Linked DNA regions of Homo sapiens: regions 1, 2, 3, 4, 5 and 6 are each linked to region 7. The links are contacts of gene promoters, found by promoter capture Hi-C in blood cells and fetal thymus (Javierre and others, 2016). All regions are on one chromosome and are shown on one strand. Each heading gives the region's core, a stretch centred on a gene start or on the middle of the fragment in contact. The rest is flanking DNA. Distances are from core to core; before and after follow the strand shown. Region 1 overlaps RASSF6 (Ras association domain family member 6). Region 2 overlaps RASSF6 (Ras association domain family member 6). Region 3 has its middle 23 kb from the start of RASSF6. Region 4 has its middle 55 kb from the start of RASSF6. Region 5 has its middle 44 kb from the start of UMLILO. Region 6 has its middle 24 kb from the start of UMLILO. Region 7 holds the start of PPBP (pro-platelet basic protein).

Region 1 (2,700 bases), core at 1-2,500, 380 kb before region 7:
TGCTCAGCCTATGGGAATTACCCGCATTCTGACGTTTGCCATGAATAATGTACTTAGCATGAAATGAGTTCCTCAATCTTATCAGGTATTTGGCTGGCTGGAAGAAACTTTTTATTTAATTTTATAAAACTGTAATATACATGAATGTGGGATAGGATTATGGGTGGAAGTGAATTATGTCTGATATCCATAGATAGAGTGGATGTCAAATATTAGTTGTACTAAGAGATTTTTTTCCTCTTGTTTTAATAATGACTTACAGCATAATTAAGTGGCCATCCTAGTCCTTCCCTAAAAGGCAAAGAACCCTGTCCTAGTCTTTACAAAGTGATTCTTACAGTTTGAACCCACTAAGGACAAAGCATAAATATTGTCATATGCCGTCACCCTACACAAACTTGAAAGACTTCCGTGTGATACAAATGAACCTCAGGGGAAAATACACTCAACGAGGTTGCCAAAGGCATGTTTATCCCCTGGCTGTGCTTCCTGAGTTTGTATTACTTCTGCTTCTTGGAGACTTGCTGAAAAATGTTCATGGTTCCAATTAAGCAGCCACTGAGCTGCTTAGTGACAACAACATTAAGAACAACATTTCATCCCAGCACTTTGGGAGGCCGAGGTGGGCGGATCACGAGGTCAGGAGATGGAGACCATCCTGGCTAACATGGTGAAACCCCATCTCTACTAAAAAATAGAAAAAAATAGCCAGGTGTGGTGGCCGGCGCCTGTAGTCCCAGCTACTCGTGAGTCTAGGCAGAAGAATGGCGTGAACCCGGGAGGTGGAGGTTGCAGTGAGTGGAGATCACACCACTGCACTCCAGCCTGAGCGACAGTGAGACTCTGTCTCAAAAAAACAAAACAAAACAAAACAAAACAAAGCAAAACAACCATTCCACTGTGTGTGTTGCCATGTTTAAGAGCAGGAACCAAGAATATTTGAAACAGACTTCAGCAGGTGAAAAACTGAGGAAGAAAAGGATAGTGCTAATTAGTTCTCTTGCACAGGTTTTCTTTTTCCCACTGATTTTGTTCACGATATTAAATTTTAGCAGTGAAGCTATTTAACAATTTCATATGTCAGGTTCAAAAAGCTGAATTTAGAACTTTATAGTTTTATAAAATAACTACAAAATATTAAAGTTAAACATATTAAACATTACATTAAATATGTAAAGGTAACAAATTATTTGCTGGGAATTAAGGTTGTGATTTTTATTTCCTATGTTATAATTCTATATACCTTATAAATCATTTTCTTTCTTTTTTTTTTTTTTTGTTTTTTGAGATGGAGTTTCGCTCTTATTGCCCAGGCTGGAGTGCAATGGTGTGATCTCATCTCATTGCAACCTCCACCTCCTGGGTTCAAGTGATTCTCTTGCCTCAGCCTCCCGAGTAGCTGGGATTATAGGCAGCTGCCACCAGGCCAGGCTAATTTTCGTATTTTCAGTAGAGATGGGGTTTCACCATGTTGGCCAGGCTGGTCTCAAACTCCTGACCTCAGATGATCCACCTGCCTCAGCCTCCCAAAGTGCTGGGATTACAGGTGTGAGCCACCATGCCCGGCCTATAAATTCTATATAAGAAACGTGTGATACTTTCATGATATTTTTTAGGTTCATAAAAATGTAATATACACTCTTGTATGTTTTTGGAAAGATGGAATCAGGAAATATGAGGACGCAGAAGAGAACTGAATAAAGCCTTGTCATCAAGCTATTTGCCAAGATAAATCATCATTCCATATTAATGATGTCTGTAATAGAAGCAGAATTCTCCAAACCCATTTTATCCTTTATTCCTGTCCATTTGAATCCTGGAATTAAAATTACAAGTTTTGGCTCCTCTTTCATAAACAGCCATGGCTCCAGGTCTTTTCGCTTTTGGCCTCATCTGGTTCAAATGATGAAGAAAGAATGCTTTTCAATCTTTGCATAGAGACCCTCCTCAGCTAGGAAAGTAGGTTATTCGCATTTCCTTTGCAAATGAAGGGACTGAGTTCCAAAGTCTGGAAACTGAGAAATTTGTGGAGAAGTAGTCTATCTCGATTGAAGCAAAAATGCAAACCCTGAATGATCAGAAAGCTCTGAATTCTGTCTCACTCTTCCAACTTCAAATACCTGAGGATTTTTCCCTTTTTTCTGCAGCCTCGCCAACATATGTTATTTTTTGACTTTTTTATAAAAGCCATTCTGTCTGGTGTGAGATGGTGTCTCACTGTGGTTTTGACTTGCATTTCTCTGATTAGTGATGATGAGCATTTTTTCATGTTTGTTGGCTGCTTGTATGTCTTCTTTTGAGAAGTGTCTGCCCATGTCTTTTGGTCACTTATACACTGTTGGTGGGAATGTAAATTAGTCTAGTCACTGTGGAAAGCAGTTTGGAGATTTTTCAAAAATCTAAAAGTTGAACTACCTTTCAACCCAACAATCCCTTTACTGGATATAGACCCAAAGGAAAATAAAACATTCTACCAAAAAGACATACACACCCCTGTGTTTATCACAACACTATTCACAATAGCAAAGACATGGAATCCACCCAGGTGCCCATCTGTGCTGGATTGGATAAAAACAATGTGGTACATAGACACCATGGAATACTCTGTAGCCATAAAAAAGAGCAAAATCATGTCCTTTGCAGCAATATGGATGCAGCCGGAGGCTATTATCCTAAGTGAACTAATAGAGAAACAGAAAA
Region 2 (2,700 bases), core at 148-2,647, 410 kb before region 7:
CCCGACCCCACAACAGTCCCCAGAGTGTGATGTTCCCCTTCCTGTGTCCATGTGTTCTCATTGTTCAATTCCCACCTATGAGTGAGAATATGCGGTGTTTGGTTTTTTGTTCTTGCGATAGTTTACTAAGAATGATGATTTCCAATTTCATCCATGTCCCTACAAAGGACATGAACTCATCATTTTTTATGGATGCATAGTATTCCATGGTGTATATGTGCCACATTTTCTTAATCCAGTCTATCATTGTTGGACATTTGGGTTGCTTCCAAGTCTTTGCTATTGTGAATAATGCCGCAATAAACATACGTGTGCATGTGTCTTTATAGCAGCATGATTTATAGTCCTTTGGGTATATACCCAGTAATGGGATGGCTGGGTCAAATGGTATTTCTAGTTCTAGATCCCTGAGGAATCGCCACACTGACTTCCACAATGGTTGAACTAGTTTACAGTCCCACAAACAGTGTAAAAGTGTTCCTATTTCTCCACATCCTCTCCAGTACCTGTTGTTTCCTGACTTTTTAATGATTGCCATTCTAACTGGTGTGAGATGGTATCTCATTGTGGTTTTGATTTGCATTTCTCTGATGGCCAGTGATGGTGAGCATTTTTTCATGTGTTTTTTGGCTGCATAAATGTCTTCTTTTGAGAAGTGTCTATTCATGTCCTTTGCCCACTTTTTGATGGGGTTGTTTGTTTTTTTCTTGTAAATTTGTTTGAGTTCATTGTAGATTCTGGATATTAGCTCTTTGTCAGATGAGTAGGTTGCGAAAATTTCCTCCCATTTTGTAGGTTGCCTGTTCACTCTGATGGTAGTTTCTTTTGCTGTGCAGAAGCTCTTTAGTTTAATGAGATCCCATTTGTCAATTTTGGCTTTTGTTGCCATTGCTTTTGGTGTTTTAGACATGAAGTCCTTGCCCATGCCTATGTCCTGAATGGTAATGCCTAGGTTTTCTTCTAGGGTTTTTATGGTTTTAGGTCTAACGTTTAAGTCTTTAATTATAGATCTTTAAGCTTTCAATTATAAGAACTTTAATTTTATATATGTTTAGAGATACAGCTTTCATTTTCTTAAGGTGTTCTGGCATCAAAATGTATTATTTTATTCTAATAAATTTCTGGCTTGAACATTCTGACACTTAAATTATAGCATGAGTTTTTTCTACAAATTGATATATAAAATTTTTCATTTGTGAAGTTTTAAAAACTTTCATTTCAGTATCACTTTAAGTTTTCTCTATTCTCTCTATTATGCTCCTAGCATCCCACTTACAGCGCCTTCCCAATGTTCTGCTTCTAACCTTTCACCCCTCACCACGAAGTTCTGAATATGCATCTCTACTGAGGAAGAGATAGCACTCCCGCAATGTGTCAGACCCTGTGCTAAAAAAGAGGCAATATCAATGTCAGAGAGAACAGGTATGCAATCATGACTCCTCTAAGAGCAACACTCAGAAAGGAAAGCCAAAAAGAAAGTTACAGAGGTGAGCAAAGACAAAAGTGCCGAAACAGTTCCAGAGGGTTTTGATCTCCATTTAGATAATTTAATGTCTGGCCAACAAGCAAACTCTTTCATATAATCAACCCTTCAGGGATACCTTATTCTTAAGTTATCTTTCTTTAAAATTGTGGACTATAGATAATGTTCTAAAGACCACTCCTTCCTTTTCTCCTACCCATTCCTCCCCTTTCTCCACAGAATGAGGCAAACTGTTCTTCTGCCTTCCCCCTGGGCAGCAAACTGTAGCACTCTAGAGTCAGGTAAAAAGTGTGATCAAGCTTTCTTACCTCCTGTTGCAAAAATAATGTGAAGAGCAAAATCCTGGGGACTATTTTCAATCTGTCAAGGGAAAAAATGAACAAATATAAATTCTTTGTTGTTATATGATGTTTTCTAACCTGACCAGACCCAAATCATGTCTGTTTTCTCTCTTCCATTTTTCACTTTTAGACATAAAATCTTCTCTGCTCTTATGGGAATTATATAATTTTTCAAGGGATAGTTACTAAAAGGTGTTATACAAAGGAAAGAATCTTTCAGTGCTCAACATCCAATTTAGATTTACACCTTTATAGATCTGTTTCAGAAGAGTGGATTTGTGTGTTTATAGTTGAATTATATATAATATATTTATAGCTCAGTTAAGTGATAAAGGTTACCTTAAATTTTTGGAGAAGTTGCTTTATTACTTCTTCAGTTCTCATGTTACTGTTTACTCTGACCTTAGTTTCTGATTCAAAGGCTGGAATGAAAATTGATGTCTAGAAAAAGAATTGTCACATAAGTCTTTAAAATTATATTATATTAAGGGTATTCAATATCTTGAACATAATCTTCTTATAGGGCAAAAAAAATCCAAGGTCATTAATTTAAAAAATTTGTTTTGTTTTTGTTTGTTTTTCTTTGTTGTTTTTGAATATTATGTGTTCTTTTAAGCAGCTTTATATTGTTTCTAGAGTAAATTAGGTAAAACACCATTTGAGGATGCTTATAACATTTTCACTGGACAATTACACCCCTCTTTAGTGCAGTTTAAGATTTCAAAATAAGTAAGAAAGAATGTCACCAGATGCATATTTAAAAACGGATAGAGATATTAAGTAAGGATTTATTTCCACATATTTTATTTATATGCACAATCTCCAAGTATTCCAAGGCTCTGTAGAAATGGGGTGGGTTCAGCAGATGTAGAGATG
Region 3 (2,700 bases), core at 80-2,579, 340 kb before region 7:
GTTGAATTTTATCAAATGCTTTCCCAGTATCATTTGAAATGGTCATATAGTATTTGTCTTTCATTCTGTTGACATGATGTATCATTTCGATTGATTTGTGTATGTTAAACTATCATTGTATCTCTGGAAAAAACCCACTTGGCCATCATGAATGATCTTTTAAATGCATTGTTGAATTCAGTTTGCTAGTATTTTGTTGAGGATATCCTGCATCAATATTCAACAAAGATATTGGCCTGTAGTTTTCTCTCTCTCTCTCTCTGTGTGTGTGTGTGAGTGTGTGTGTGTGTGTTTGGTTTTGGTATCAGAGTAATACTGGCCTCATAGAATGAGTTTGGAAGTATTCCCTCCTGCTCAACTTTTCAGAGTAATTAAAGTAGGATTGGTATTATTTCTTTAAATGTTGGAATTAAACAGGGAGGCCTTTGAGTTTTGGGCTTTTCTTTGCTGGGAAACTTTATTATGGCTTTGATCTCATTGTTTGTTATTGGTCTGTTCAGGTTTTGGATTTCTTCATTGTTCAAACTTGTTAGATTTTATGTACCTAGAAATTTATTTATTTATTTTTAAGATTTTTCTAATTTATTGGCATGTAGTTGCTCATAATAGCCACTAATGATTCTTTAAATTTCTGCAGCATCAGTTGTAATATCTCCTTTTTTAATCTCTTATTTTATTCATTTGGGTCTTCCATCTTTTTTTCTTAGTATGGTTAAAGATTCGTTAATTTCATTTATGTATTCAAAAACCCAACTTTTTGTTCCATTAATTTTTTGTATTTTTTCATTTAAAATTTATTTCCACTCTGATCTTTATTATTTCTGTTCTGCTAGTTTGGGGTTTGATTTGCTCCTGTTTTTGTAGTTCTTTAAGATGTATTGTTAGGTTATTTATTTGAAGTTTTTCTTGTTTTTTGCTGTAGGCACTCATAGCTATAAACTTCCCTCTTAGTATTACTTTTTCTGTATCCCATTAGTTTTGTTACATTGTGTTTCCATTGTCATTTGTTTCAAGACATTTTTAAATTTCCTCCTTAATCTCTTCATTGACCCACTGGTTATTCAGGAGCATATCATTTAATTTCTGTGTGTTTGTACAGTTCCCAAAATTGCTCATTTGTTTTTGTTTCTAGGGTTTGTTTCCACTGTTGTCAGAGAAGATGATGAATATCACTTCAAGATTTTTTAATGTTTTAAGACTTGTTTTGTGACTTAACATATGGTCTATTGTTGAGTATAATCCACGTGTTGAGGAAAAGAATGTATATTCTGTAGCCATTGGATGAAATGCTCTGTAAATATCTATTAGGTCTATTTGGTTTATAGTGCAGATTAAGTCAGATGTTTCTTTATTGATTTACTGTCTGGAAGATTATTCCAGTGCTCAAAGTAGAGCGTTGAAGTATCCACCTATTATTTTATTGTGATCGGTCTCTCTCATTAGCTCTATTAATATTTGCTTCCTATATCTGGGTGCTACAGTGGTGGGTGCACATGTATCTACAATTGTTATATCCCGTTGCTGAATTGACTCCTTTATCATTATATAGTGATTTTTGGCTCTTAGAGTTTTTGTCTTGAAACATATATATATATCAAATATATATATATATAAACATCAAATATATATATATATATAAACTAATAGAAGAGAAATAATAAAGATCAGAGTGGAAATAAATTTTAAATGAAAAAAATACAAAAAATTAATGGCAGAAAAAGTTGTTTTTTTGAATAAATAAACACAATTAACGAATCATTAGACAGACTAAGAAAAAAAGAAAGAAGACCCAAATCAAAAAAAAAGTGGATTTCTCTCTCTATATATATTTCATATATATTTATACATATATATGTATGTATAGCTACTCCTCTTTTTTGGTTTTCATTGATGTGGAATATCTTTTTCCATCCTTTTGTTTTCAGTCTATTTGTATCTTTATAGTTTGTGTTTGTTGCAGACAACAAATCATTGGGTCGTACTTTTCTATCCATTCATCCACTCTATGTCTTTTGATTGGAGAGTTTAGTCTATTTACATTCAATGTTATTACGGATAAGTAAGGTATTACTCTTATAATTTTCTTGTTCATTTTCTGATGGTGTTACGGTCTCTTCTTCTTTCTTTCTTTCCTTCCTGTCTTCCTTTTACTGAAGGTAATTTTCCCAGTGGTATAATTTAATTTCTTGCTTTTTATTTTTTGTGTATCTGCTATATGTTTTTTTGATTCAAGGTTACCATGAGGCTTGCAAATACTATCTTATTTCCTATTATTTTAAGCTGATAACAGCTTTATAGTACTTGTGTAAACGATTTATCAAAGATGCAAGAAGTAAACTAAGAAAAACTCTACACTTTAATTTCATCACCTGATTTAAAAAATTTTATTGTTTCAGTGATCTTTGTACTGTTTCTGTCTTAAAAAGTTTTTGTAGTTATTATTTTTTATTAGTTCATCTTTTAGTCTTTCTACTTAAGAGTGGTTTACACGCCACAGTTACAGTGTTATGATAGTCTAAGTTTTTCCCTATACTTACTATTGCCAGTGAGTTTTATACCTTAGGGTGATGTTTTTCTTCCTAATTAACATCTTTTTCTTTCTGATTGCAGTAGTCTCTTTAGCATTTCTTGTAGGACAGGTCTGGTGTTGATGAAATCCCTCAGCTTGTGTTTGTCTGGGAATGTCTTTATTTCTCCTTC
Region 4 (2,796 bases), core at 75-2,574, 420 kb before region 7:
TACTATGTTGAATAACAGTGGTAAAATGAGCATCCTTGTTTCGTTCCACATCTTAGGGGAAAGGCTTTAAGTTTTTCTCCATTCAGTATGATCCTAGCTGTGGATCTGTCATATATGGCTTTTTATTATGTTGAGGTAAGTTCCTTCTACATCCAGTTTTTGGAGGGTTTTTATCATGAAGGGATGTTGAATTTTATCAAATGCTCTTTCAGTATCAATTGAAAAGATCTTTGGTTTTTGTTCTTCATTCTGTTGATATGAAGTATCACATTGATTGATTTGCATATGTTGAATCATCCTTGCATCTCTGTAATAAATCCCACTTGGTCATGATAAGTGATCTCTTTAATGTGTTGATGAATTTCATTTGCTAGTATTTTGTTGAGGATCTTTATATCAATATTCATCAGGGATATTGGCCTGTAGTGTTGTGGGTTTTTTTTTTTTTAATATCTTGTCTGGTTTTGGTATCAGGGTAATAATGGCCCCATAGAATGAGTTTCAAAGTATGCCCTCCTCCTTTATTTTTCAGAATAGTTTGAGTAGGATTGGTGTTAGTTATTTAAATGTTTGGGAAATTTCACAGCACAGCCATTGGGTCCCAGGCTTTTCTTTGCTGCAAGACTTTTATTACAGCTTTGGTCTTACTACTTGCTATTGGTTTGCTCAGGTTTTGGATTTCTTTATGGTTCAACTTTGGTAGATTGTATATATCTGGGAATTTATCCATTTCTTCTAGATTTTCCAAGTTACTAGGATATAGTTTCTCCAAGTAGCCATCTATGACCCTTTGAATTTCTGTGGTATTGGTTTTAATGTCTCCTTTTTCATCTCTGATTTTATTTATTTTGGTCATCTCTCTCTTTTTATTAATTAGTCTGGGTAAAGGTTTGTCAATTTTATCTATCTTTTAAAAACACAAACTTTGTTTAATTCATCTTTTGTATTGTTTTCTTAGTTTTAATTTTATTTATTTCTCCTCTAATTTTTATTATTTCTTTTCTTTCCTAATTTTGGGTTTGGTTGCTCCTGTTTTTTTAATTCTTAAAATGCATTGTTAGGTTATTTATTGGAAATTTTTTTTCTTTTTTTGATGTAGGTGCTTATATCTATAAATATCACTCTTAGTCCTGCTTTCACTGCCTTCCCACAGGTTTTTGTATGTCGCATTTCCATTATCACTTGTTTCAAGAAATTTTTCAGCTTCCTTCTTAATTTCTTCATTGACCCACTGGTCATTCAGGAATATGTTAATTTCCATGTGCTTGTACAGTTTTCAAAATTACTCTGTTATTGATTTCTAGTTTTATTCTATTGTTATCAGAGAAGTTGCTTGATATTATTTCAATTTTTTGCATATTTTCAGACTTGTTTTGTGACCTAACACATGGTCTGTCTTGAGGATGATTATATGCTGAGCAGGAGGTGTATTCTAGCTATGCCAACTAGCTATGCCAGCTCTTTTATGCTTTTCATTGGCATGGAATATATTTTCCATCCCTTTATTTTGAATGTAAATGTGCCTTTACAGGTGAAGTGTGTTTTTTGTAGGGAACAGATCATTCAGATCATTGCATCTTGTTTTTTTTTTTTTTTTTTTTTTACATGCGTTCAGCCACACTATGTCTTTTGATTGGAGAGTTTAGTCCATTTACATTCAACGTTTTTTTTTTTTTTGATAAGTAAGGACTTAACCCTTGTCATTTCGTTGTTTGTTTTCCAGCCCTTTTGCGGTGTTCTCTTCTTCCTTTTCTTCCATCCTGCATCCTGTCTTTTTTTTAGTGAAGATGATTTTCTCTGGTAGTATGATTAAATTTCTTGTTTTTTATTTTTTCATGTATCCATTGTATGATTTTTGATTTGAGATTCCATGTTGCTTGCAAACTGTATCTTTTAACCTATTATTTTAAACTTATGACAACTTAACTACTGATTGCATAAGCAAACAAAAAGAAAACTAATAAAATCTCTATACTTTAATTGTATTCCCTCACTTTTAAACTTTTTGTTGTTTTCCTTTATGTCTTATTGTACTATGTCTTGAAAATTTATTGTAGTTATTATTTTTGATTGGTTCATCTTTTAGTCTCTCTAGTTAAGAGTAGTTTACATACCACAATAATAGTGTTATGATATTCTATCTTTTTCTATGTACATACTATCACCAGTGAGTTTTGTACCTTCAGAAGATTTTTAATGTTGATTAATATCCTTTGTTTTCTGGTTGTAGAACTCCCTTTAGCATTTCTTGTAGGAGAGTTGTGACGCTAATAAAATCTCTCAGCTTTTGTCTGTTTGGGAAAGTGTTTAATTTTTCTTGATGTTTGAAGGATATTATTACTAGATATACTATTCTAGGGTAACAGTATTTTCCTTCAGCATTTTAAATATGTAATGCCACTCACTCCTGGCCTGTAGGATTTCCACTGAAAAATCTGCTGCCAGATAGAGCTTCATTGCATGTTATTTGTTTCTTTTATCTTGCTGCTTTTAGAATCCTTTCGTTATCCTTGACCTTTGGGAGTTCGATTATTAAATCTTTTGAGGTAGTCTTCTTTGGGTTAAATCTGCCTGGTGTTCTATAACCTTCTTGTACATGGATATTGATATCTTTCTCTAGGTTTGGGAATTTCTCTATTATTACCCTGTTGAATAAATTTTCTACCCCATCTCGTTCTCTTAATCCTCTTTAAGGACAACAACAATTAGATTTTCTGTTTTGAGCTTATTTTTCTAGATCTTGTAGATCTGTTTCATTTTTTTCTTCTGCTTGATCAATTCTGCTATTAAGACACT
Region 5 (2,700 bases), core at 124-2,623, 320 kb before region 7:
CACCCTTCAAAGAACATAGCCAGGATATTAAATATCCATTTCTTACTTTCTTAGTTTTTTAATTCATTAGAGCTGGAACAGAAGACCAAGAGAATTGTAGGGACCAGCCCCACAGGGTCGGTGGGTTTTTCTCCCCATGTGTGGAGATGAGAGATTGTAGAAATAAAGACACAAGACAAAGAGATAAAAGAAAAGGCAGCTGGGCCCAGGGCACCACTACCACCAAGACATGGAGACCGGTAGTGGCCCCAAATGCCAGGCTGTGCTGATATTTATTGGATACAAGACATAGGGGTAGGGTAAGGAGTGTGAGCCATCTCCAATGATAGGTAAGGTCACGTGGGTCACGTGTCCACTGGACAGGGGGCCCTTCCCTGTTTGGCAGCTGAGGCGGAGAGAGGAGACAGCTTACACCATTATTTCTGCATATCAGAGACTTTTAGTACTTTAACCAATTTTGCTACTGCTATCTAAAAGGCAGAGCCAGGTGCACAGGATGGAACATGACAGCAGACTAGGAGCATGACCACTGAAGCACAGCATCACAGGGAGACAGGCCTCCGGATAACTGTGGGTGGGCCTGACTGATGTCAGGCCCTCCTCAAGAGGTGGAGAAGTAGAGTCTTCTCTAAACTCCCCCAGGGAAAGGGAGACTCCCTTTCCTGGTCTGCTAAGTAGCGGGTGTTTTTCCTTGGCACTGACGCTACCACTAGACCATGGTCCACTTGGCAACAGGCGTCTTCCCAGATGCTGGCGTTACCGCTAGACCAAGGAGCCCTCTAGTGGCCCTGTCTGGACTTGACAGAGGGCTCACACTCTTGTCTTCTGGTCACTTCTCACCATGTCTCCTCAGCTCCTATCTCTGTATGGCCTGGCTTTTCCTAGGTTATGATTGTAGAGCGAGGATTATTATAATATTGGAATAAAGCGTAATTGCTACAAACTAATGATTAATGATATTCATGTATAATCATGTCTATGATCTAGATCTAGTATAACTCTTGTTGTTTTATATATTTTATTATATTGGAACAGCTCGTGCCCTCGGTCTCTTGCCTTGGCACCTGATTGGCTTGCCACCCACATCTGCCCCCTTTTTATTAACTAGGATCGCCATCACCATCATTGCTTGTCGTTGACTTTGGACTTGTTTCCGGACTCCTTGGAGGCATCTGCAGACTAAAAGAGACAACATAAGCATACCAGTATTAATAATGCCAGTGACAACAATGATTCTCCAAGGGGTTTGATCCATTTAAAGGGATTAAGATCAGATAATTCTTTAGTTATTCCTTCAAAAATGTCTGAGCCAGGAACAGTGGATAAATGAGCCTGTGAAGCCTCAAAAATTTGTTCTTTAAGTTTTGAAATATCCAAGGTTAAGTTATCATCCCAGGCTTTTAAATGTCTTGAGAACTTTTCCCAGCTATGCTGATCTTTATTATAAGCATAAGGCATTATGCAGTAATCAGAAGTATTCCAATCACACTGTAATTGCATACGGTGTTCCAAATTCATAACTCTATTTCCCAATCATATCACACGTTGGCAGAGATCATTAATTTGATTAGCTAATTTTTGATCAATTTGAGCCTTAGAATTCCAAAGTCTGGAGGAGTTTTTTTGCCATGCTTCAACACATTGAGTGGTTTGAACGGAATTGTGAATCATAACTCCAGCAGTTGCCACTGTTGCAGTAACCGCAATTAGACCTGCAATGACTGCAATAAGAGTAAAAATAAATCTCTTTGTTCTTTTGAGGATACCTTTAAGAACTTCATTGACTATGTATATAGAGGGGGAAGACTCCCACGGATGATGTAAAGAAACTGGTATCCATACCCCCTCCCTAGCACTTACCAAGAGAATACTTGTTGTGGGATTAAAAGTAGCATCAATGCACGTGAACAGCTTACAATTATCACATTCTATAGTTTGTGTACTGGGAATGATAATTATATTTCTAACTAACAGCAGGTGAGTGGTTTTGACACAACTCCTGATGGGTATTACCTGTTTAGATATCAAGGTGATGTTGAATGTGGGTGTTTTGGTATTAGTGTGAAGGAGTTGATAAGTAGTGTTCCATATCCTTATTCCTGTTATAGCTGCAGCTAATTTCCATAATTCAGGATGTTCTGGGGTAACAATGGGATGAATCATTTTTGGTCTAGGAGGAACAATGCCTGCGTCCATCCATTTAAATGGGTAAGGAGACACCTATTGTCTCAACCTGTATGACTGCCATCCATCCTTTATATAATCTAACAAATAATTATACTCCGAGCATGAGGTATTTTTGCTGGAGCAATCCTGCGAATAATGCTCTTTTGGAGCCCAATCAATAACAGTTCCCATGGCTAGACTTTGCAGCACAATGGCCTTGGGAGCATTACAATCATTCCATAAAATTGAATTCAGTAGAAAAGTTCCCTTTGTAGGTTTCTTTGGGCAGTCTGGCAGTCCTTTTGTTTTATTGCTGTTAGTAGTGACAGGAGCCCTCAATTCCTCAAGAGGCTTAAGTTTAACAGTGAGAAGTTGAAAAGAATTGCTACTGAACACATTATGTACTTGATAAGAATCATTTGTTAAGGATGGTACGGTCCACATCCAATTCTGGTAAGAATAAGCTAAACAGCCAGGTGATACACAGTGGTGGGTATTTATAGCCAAATGACAGATTAAAGTGCATACCTTCTT
Region 6 (2,791 bases), core at 244-2,743, 300 kb before region 7:
TTCCATTTATAGATTATATCATACACTGTTACAATTTCTATTTGTGTGACTGATGGATTGATTGCATGGGCAGATGAGGCGAGCTGGACATGAAGGAGACGTAAGTGAAGAGAGGAGAGGACACAGAAGCAGGAAGGAGAATGTGCTCAAAGATGAGATGATTGTTGGTGACTGCCATGCAGAATCTAGCCTTGGCTCTGCCATGTACCCCTGAGAGGAATATCAGTTCTCTTTCCTCTCCCATGTCCTCCTCTGACTATCTTTATGGGGACTGAAATGAGGCACTTTTCAAAAAAGGTAAGCAATAATTGGCCCATATCTCCTTTCTTATGCAATCCTCATTTATCTTTGAGATGTTATCACACTTGATATATTCCCATTCCAGTTGTCATATTAAAGCTTCTTAGTCGATGAACTTCTAGATTCACTTAGATTTAGGAGCCAGGAAAAGAAAATATTTATTCTAATATGTTGACATTTACCACTCTGATATTTATATTTCAGTAAGTATAACTTGAATGATTTATTTAAAGTATTTTCTAAAACCATAAAGTAACACTGAAGACAGATCATGAATGATGTATTTTCTATTATGTACTCAGTTGCCAACTGAATTTTAATTTTCAGAGGAATGCTATCTTAAATTACTAGATAATATTTATGTCAGTAACTATATTTTTTTTATTTTTTTATTGTGGAACACATAGGAAATAGCAAAGATAGTACAGAGGAGTACAGTGTACCTTTAATCTGGTAACAGGCACTATTTTAAAAATCTGAATATAACACGCCCAACACAGGATAACCCAGATTCATAAAGCAAGTTCTAAGAGACCTACAAAAAGATTTAGAATCCCACACGATAATGGTGGGAGACTTCAACAGTCCACTGATAATATTAGACAGATCATTGAGGTGAAAAATTAACAGATATTTGGACCTGAACTCAACATTAAAATAAATCTGATCGTAGAGAATTATATTTTCAGACCTCTACAGAACTCTCCACCCCAAAACAAGAGAATATACATTCTTCTCATTGCTATATGGCACACACTCTATTAATTGACTAGCAGTCAGACATAAAACAATCCTCAGCAATGCAAAAGAACCAAAATCACACAAACACACTCTTGGACCACAGTGCAATAAATATAGAAGTCAAAACTTTAAAAATTGCTCAAAACCATACAATTACATGGAAATAAAACAACCTGCTTCTGAGTGACTTTTGAGTAAATAATGAAATTAAGGCAAAAATCAAGACTTTTTTGAAACTAATGAGAACAAAAATACAACATAGTGGAATCTCTGGGATACAGCTGAAAGAGTGTTAACAGGGAAATGTATAGCACTAAACACCAACAACAAAAGGGAATATTTCAAATTAACAACCTAATATTACAACTGAAAGCATCAGAGAAGCAAGAGCAAACCAACCCCAAAGCTAGCAGAAGATTAGAGATAACCAAAATCCAAGCTGAGCTGAAGGAAATAAAGACATGGAAAACCATTCAAAAGATCAGTGAGCCCAGAGTAGTTTTTCTGAAAAAATTGATGAGATAGATAGGCTGCTAGCTAAACTAATAAAGAAGAAAAGAGAAGATTGAAATAAACACAATTAGAAACAACAAAGGAAATGTTACCACTCACCACACAGAAATAAAAATAACCATCAGAAACTACTATGAACACCTCTAAGCACACAAACTAGAAAACCTTAAAAAGATGGATAAATTCCTGGACAATATAACCTCCAAAAACTAAACCAGGAAGAATTTGATTACCTGAACACACCAAAAATGAGATCTGAAATTGAACAAATAATAAATACCCTACCAACCCCCCAAAAAGCCCAGGATCAGATGGATTTAGAGCTAAATTTTACCATATGTACAAAGAAGATCTGGTGTCATTTCTACTGAAACTAATTTTAAAAATTGAGAAGGAGGGACTCCTCCCAACTCATTCAATGAGGCCGGCATCATTCTGATACCAAAACCTGGCAGAGACACAACAAAAACAGAAAACTTCAGGCCAATATTCTTGATGAATATTAATGCAAAAATCCTTAACAAACTACTTGCAAACCAAATCCAGCAGTGCATCAAAAAGTTAATCCACAATGATCAAGTAGGCTTTTTCCCTGGAATGCAAGATTGGTTCAACATACACAAATAAATAAATGTAATCCATCGCATAAGTATAACTAAAGACAAAAACCACATGATTACCTCAATAGATGCAGAAAAGGCTTTTGATAAAATTCAATGTCTTTTTATGTTAAGAACTCTCAGTAAACTAGGTATTGAAGGGACAAACATCAAAATAATAAGTCATCTATGGCAAACCCACAGCTAACATCATACTGAATGCGGAAAAGTTGGAAACATTCCCCTTGAAAACTGATACAAGACAAGGATGTCTTCTCTCACCACTCCTATTCAACATAGTATTGGAAGTCCAGGCCAGAACAATCAGGCAAGAGAAAGAAATAAAGGCATCCAAATAGGAATAAAGAAAGTCAAACTGTCCCTATTTGCAGATGACATGGTTCCATATATAGAAAGCCCTGTAGTCTTGGCCCAAAGCTTCTTCAGCTGATAAACAACTTCAGCAAAGTTTTAGGATACAAAATCAGCATACAAAAATCTCTGGCATTCTTATACACTAATGACAGCCAAACTGAGAGCCAGATCAGGAATGCAATTCCATTCACAATTGCCACAAAATAAATAAACAAATAAATAACCTAGAAATGTGGCTAACCAGGGAGGTGAAAGGACTCTAC
Region 7 (2,700 bases), core at 196-2,695:
GTGTTTGATGGCTAAAATAAACATCAGAATAAACTTTCAGGGAGTATTTTAAATAAGACATCCTAGGACTAAGACACTGAGAGACTCCATTAAGTTCCTAAATATATTAACAAAAATGTATTGAGCAAATATTCTCTGTTGGGCTCCATGTAATTCCTATTATCATTGACCATTATGAAATCTAATAATACCCATGAGTATGTCTAATAACCATAAAGTAGACCAGGAAAAATCAACCAAGTTGTGTTAGAATAGAAATTTTTAAAGAAAAAAATGCAAAGTACAGTCCAATGTTTAGGCAAGAATTAGAGGGTTGAAACCAGGCTTATTTATTTTCATCTTCTTTCTGCCATCTTTTAACCAACCTTCTCAGAATAAAATGTGATTTTTGAGACAGAATGAAACACATATCCAAATTTTAATACAGTAAGAATAGGTATCCTGAATAAATGAGAACTCTAGAAAATCAAGGTTTCAAAATTCTACCCTTCCTGGGAGTTAAAGAAGTTTGGCAGAAACAGAACAAATTAATCAGCAGATTCATCACCTGCCAATTTTTTCTGTACAATTTTCTTGATTCTGGGAGCATCTGGGTCCAGGCAGATTTTCCTCCCATCCTTCAGTGTGGCTCTGCAAAAGAGAACAGGGTTATCTGTGGGTGTCCTGATCTGAATATCAGAACTAATCCATGAGACTGGAGGAAACGAGTGCATATGTGGATGGAGGTAGAGGGTTTCTCTGATAAGGCAATAGCACAGAAACAGCAACTTACATCACTTCGACTTGGTTGCAATGGGTTCCTTTCCCGATCACTTCCAAACTTTGGATGTTTTTGGGATGAATTCCAGAGGTTGTCTTTATACACATGCAGCGGAGTTCAGCATACAAGTCACTGTCTAGACTTTCCTCTAGGGTAGAAAATGTGACCTATTGGTGGTCATGAATATTTTCCTCAGGTCTCTTATTTGCAGATTGAGGGCAATTGTACCTCTCTCATAAAGCCATTGTGAATATGATCTGTAACGCTTTAGTAAAGTGCCCAGAAGATTGCCCAGCACACAAGAAGTGAGAAGTGACCCCCCTGTGTGTCTCCTCCAATTGGAGTTATTGGTATAATGGCCCTCTCCAGCCCCAAAGGCACCAAGCTAGTCTTTACCCCAGAGACAGGTGTAGCAGAAGCAGCAACAAGTGCAGAGAAGCAGGGCCTCTACCTTTGCCTTTCGCCAAGTTTCTCTTAGTTTGTCCTTTGGTGGAGGAAGCCAGAGCAGTCAGCAGCAATGACAGAAGCAGCAGCACCTGCAAGGCATGAAGTGGTCTCGCACTGTTACAGGAAGGGGTGGTATCAAGTCTGAGGCTCATGGTGGAGAAGGCTGAGCTAGAGTTGTTTCCAGAACCAGAAGACCTCTGAGTGAGGGTGAGTTGCTGCCTACAAGTCTGCAGATAAGTGGCTTCTCATGCCCTGAAGATGTCATTTATATGCTCTTTCTCAAAGCCAGTAAGAAGGAAGAGGTAGGAAAGGAGGAAGTGAGGGTATGTGGTGATACACACATAAGCATTTGAAGCTGTGCCCAACCCAGAGAAAGACCAGACAGGTCAAATTCCTACTAACTTGCTTAATGTGCATCACTTCACATTCCCACTCTCCCTTTCTCAATACTTATCTTCCTTACACCTGTGTAAGAACTCCGTTCAGGAAGGTAAGAACTAGACTGAAATACTACATGCATTTTCTTTGTATGATTTATAACAATACGCCCTGCCTTTTCTATACTGCAGTTTTTAGGCTTAATAGAAACTTTAGGAGCACCTGAAGGCACAAACATGTGGCCCTTGAAAGAGAAAGTTATCTTTGCTTGCCAAAGAAAGCAAATGTTCTTTTCATGAATGTTGATAAATATTGGGATTGGTTTGGAGCATGTAAGTAAAATAAGAGCCAATTACCGTCAAAGGTTGTCTTTGGATTTTAGCTTATTGGATTCTTTCTGCCTTCAATCTATATTATCTTTTGTAATTTCATCTAGAAACTACAAATGAAACTCATCCTCCTTTATATTACAAAAGAAGCTACTTGTTTCTACCACCTAAGAATACCTAAAAAGTAGGACCCAGCATATTTATTTTTCTTTTTATTTTTAATTTAACAGAAAAATTATATAATTTATTGCAAAAGATTCGTATGCTGCAGATGTCTTTGAAATAAAACACAAATTTCTCTTCATCATTTCTCCACATTCCTACTATTCAGTGGTAAACACTGGTAACAATTTTGCATTAGTTTTCAATTCTGTCTGCACTTATATGCACACATGTATATGTATACAATGAGACACGTTTAAGACATAGAGGTACACATATACATAGAAGTATTGTATATGGATCACTATACAGCTGACTTTTATCCTTCAAAAAATATGTGTTCCTTATCTTTTCAGGTCATCTTAATGTAGTTTTCCCCCATTCTTCTTAATGACCATGTGACGTCCTGTGATAAGAACAATAGTTACTCAACCTTGCCTTGTTGGTGCCCTTCACGGTGTTTCCAATTTTGCACTATTAGAAATTGTGCAAGAAATGTCCTTACCAAGGAAAATATTTGTTCCTGAATTCTCAGACCCAAATTAAAGGTTTTGGTCTGAAATGCTATATCCCTACAAAGATAGAGAGGTGGACCTACACATTACATGTTGGCTTTATGTTATT

Evidence for each region. Contacts are between HindIII fragments. The CHiCAGO score rates a contact against its expected background, and 5 or more counts as called.
Region 1: a fragment that was not itself captured here is called in contact with the fragment with the promoter of PPBP in region 7 in 1 of 17 cell types (neutrophils); the score reaches 7.4 in neutrophils.
Region 2: a fragment that was not itself captured here is called in contact with the fragment with the promoter of PPBP in region 7 in 2 of 17 cell types (endothelial precursors and M1 macrophages); the score reaches 5.7 in endothelial precursors.
Region 3: a fragment that was not itself captured here is called in contact with the fragment with the promoter of PPBP in region 7 in 2 of 17 cell types (neutrophils and monocytes); the score reaches 7.9 in neutrophils.
Region 4: a fragment that was not itself captured here is called in contact with the fragment with the promoter of PPBP in region 7 in 1 of 17 cell types (neutrophils); the score reaches 6.1 in neutrophils.
Region 5: a contact is called between a fragment that was not itself captured here and the fragment with the promoter of PPBP in region 7, in 4 of 17 cell types (neutrophils, megakaryocytes, monocytes and 1 more). The highest score is 10.9, in neutrophils.
Region 6: a fragment that was not itself captured here is called in contact with the fragment with the promoter of PPBP in region 7 in 4 of 17 cell types (monocytes, M1 macrophages, neutrophils and 1 more); the score reaches 5.9 in monocytes.

The regions. Positions count from the first base shown.
Region 1 is chr4:73,603,622-73,606,321 of GRCh38, forward strand. The region is part of intron 2 of RASSF6 (Ras association domain family member 6); the gene reads right to left. Among named protein-coding and RNA genes, the nearest start is that of RASSF6, 15 kb to the right of the region's middle. The HindIII fragment of the contact is 9,023 bases long and covers 1-2,700 here.
Region 2 is chr4:73,580,026-73,582,725 of GRCh38, forward strand. It overlaps RASSF6 (Ras association domain family member 6), which reads right to left. Exons shown (of 11, transcript NM_177532.5): 7 at 2,164-2,265; 8 at 1,792-1,843. Among named protein-coding and RNA genes, the nearest start is that of RASSF6, 39 kb to the right of the region's middle. The HindIII fragment of the contact is 765 bases long and covers 1,016-1,780 here.
Region 3 is chr4:73,642,041-73,644,740 of GRCh38, forward strand. No RefSeq gene overlaps it. Among named protein-coding and RNA genes, the nearest start is that of RASSF6, 23 kb to the left of the region's middle. The HindIII fragment of the contact is 5,364 bases long and covers 1-2,700 here.
Region 4 is chr4:73,564,085-73,566,880 of GRCh38, forward strand. No RefSeq gene overlaps it. Among named protein-coding and RNA genes, the nearest start is that of RASSF6, 55 kb to the right of the region's middle. The HindIII fragment of the contact is 8,717 bases long and covers 1-2,796 here.
Region 5 is chr4:73,665,361-73,668,060 of GRCh38, forward strand. No RefSeq gene overlaps it. Among named protein-coding and RNA genes, the nearest start is that of UMLILO, 44 kb to the right of the region's middle. The HindIII fragment of the contact is 4,697 bases long and covers 1-2,700 here.
Region 6 is chr4:73,684,900-73,687,690 of GRCh38, forward strand. No RefSeq gene overlaps it. Among named protein-coding and RNA genes, the nearest start is that of UMLILO, 24 kb to the right of the region's middle. The HindIII fragment of the contact is 2,192 bases long and covers 398-2,589 here.
Region 7 is chr4:73,986,745-73,989,444 of GRCh38, forward strand. PPBP (pro-platelet basic protein) reads right to left here and starts at 1,446. Exons shown (of 3, transcript NM_002704.3): 1 at 1,212-1,446; 2 at 773-908; 3 at 1-630. The coding sequence starts at 1,359. The coding sequence ends at 528. The HindIII fragment of the contact is 3,234 bases long and covers 1-2,700 here.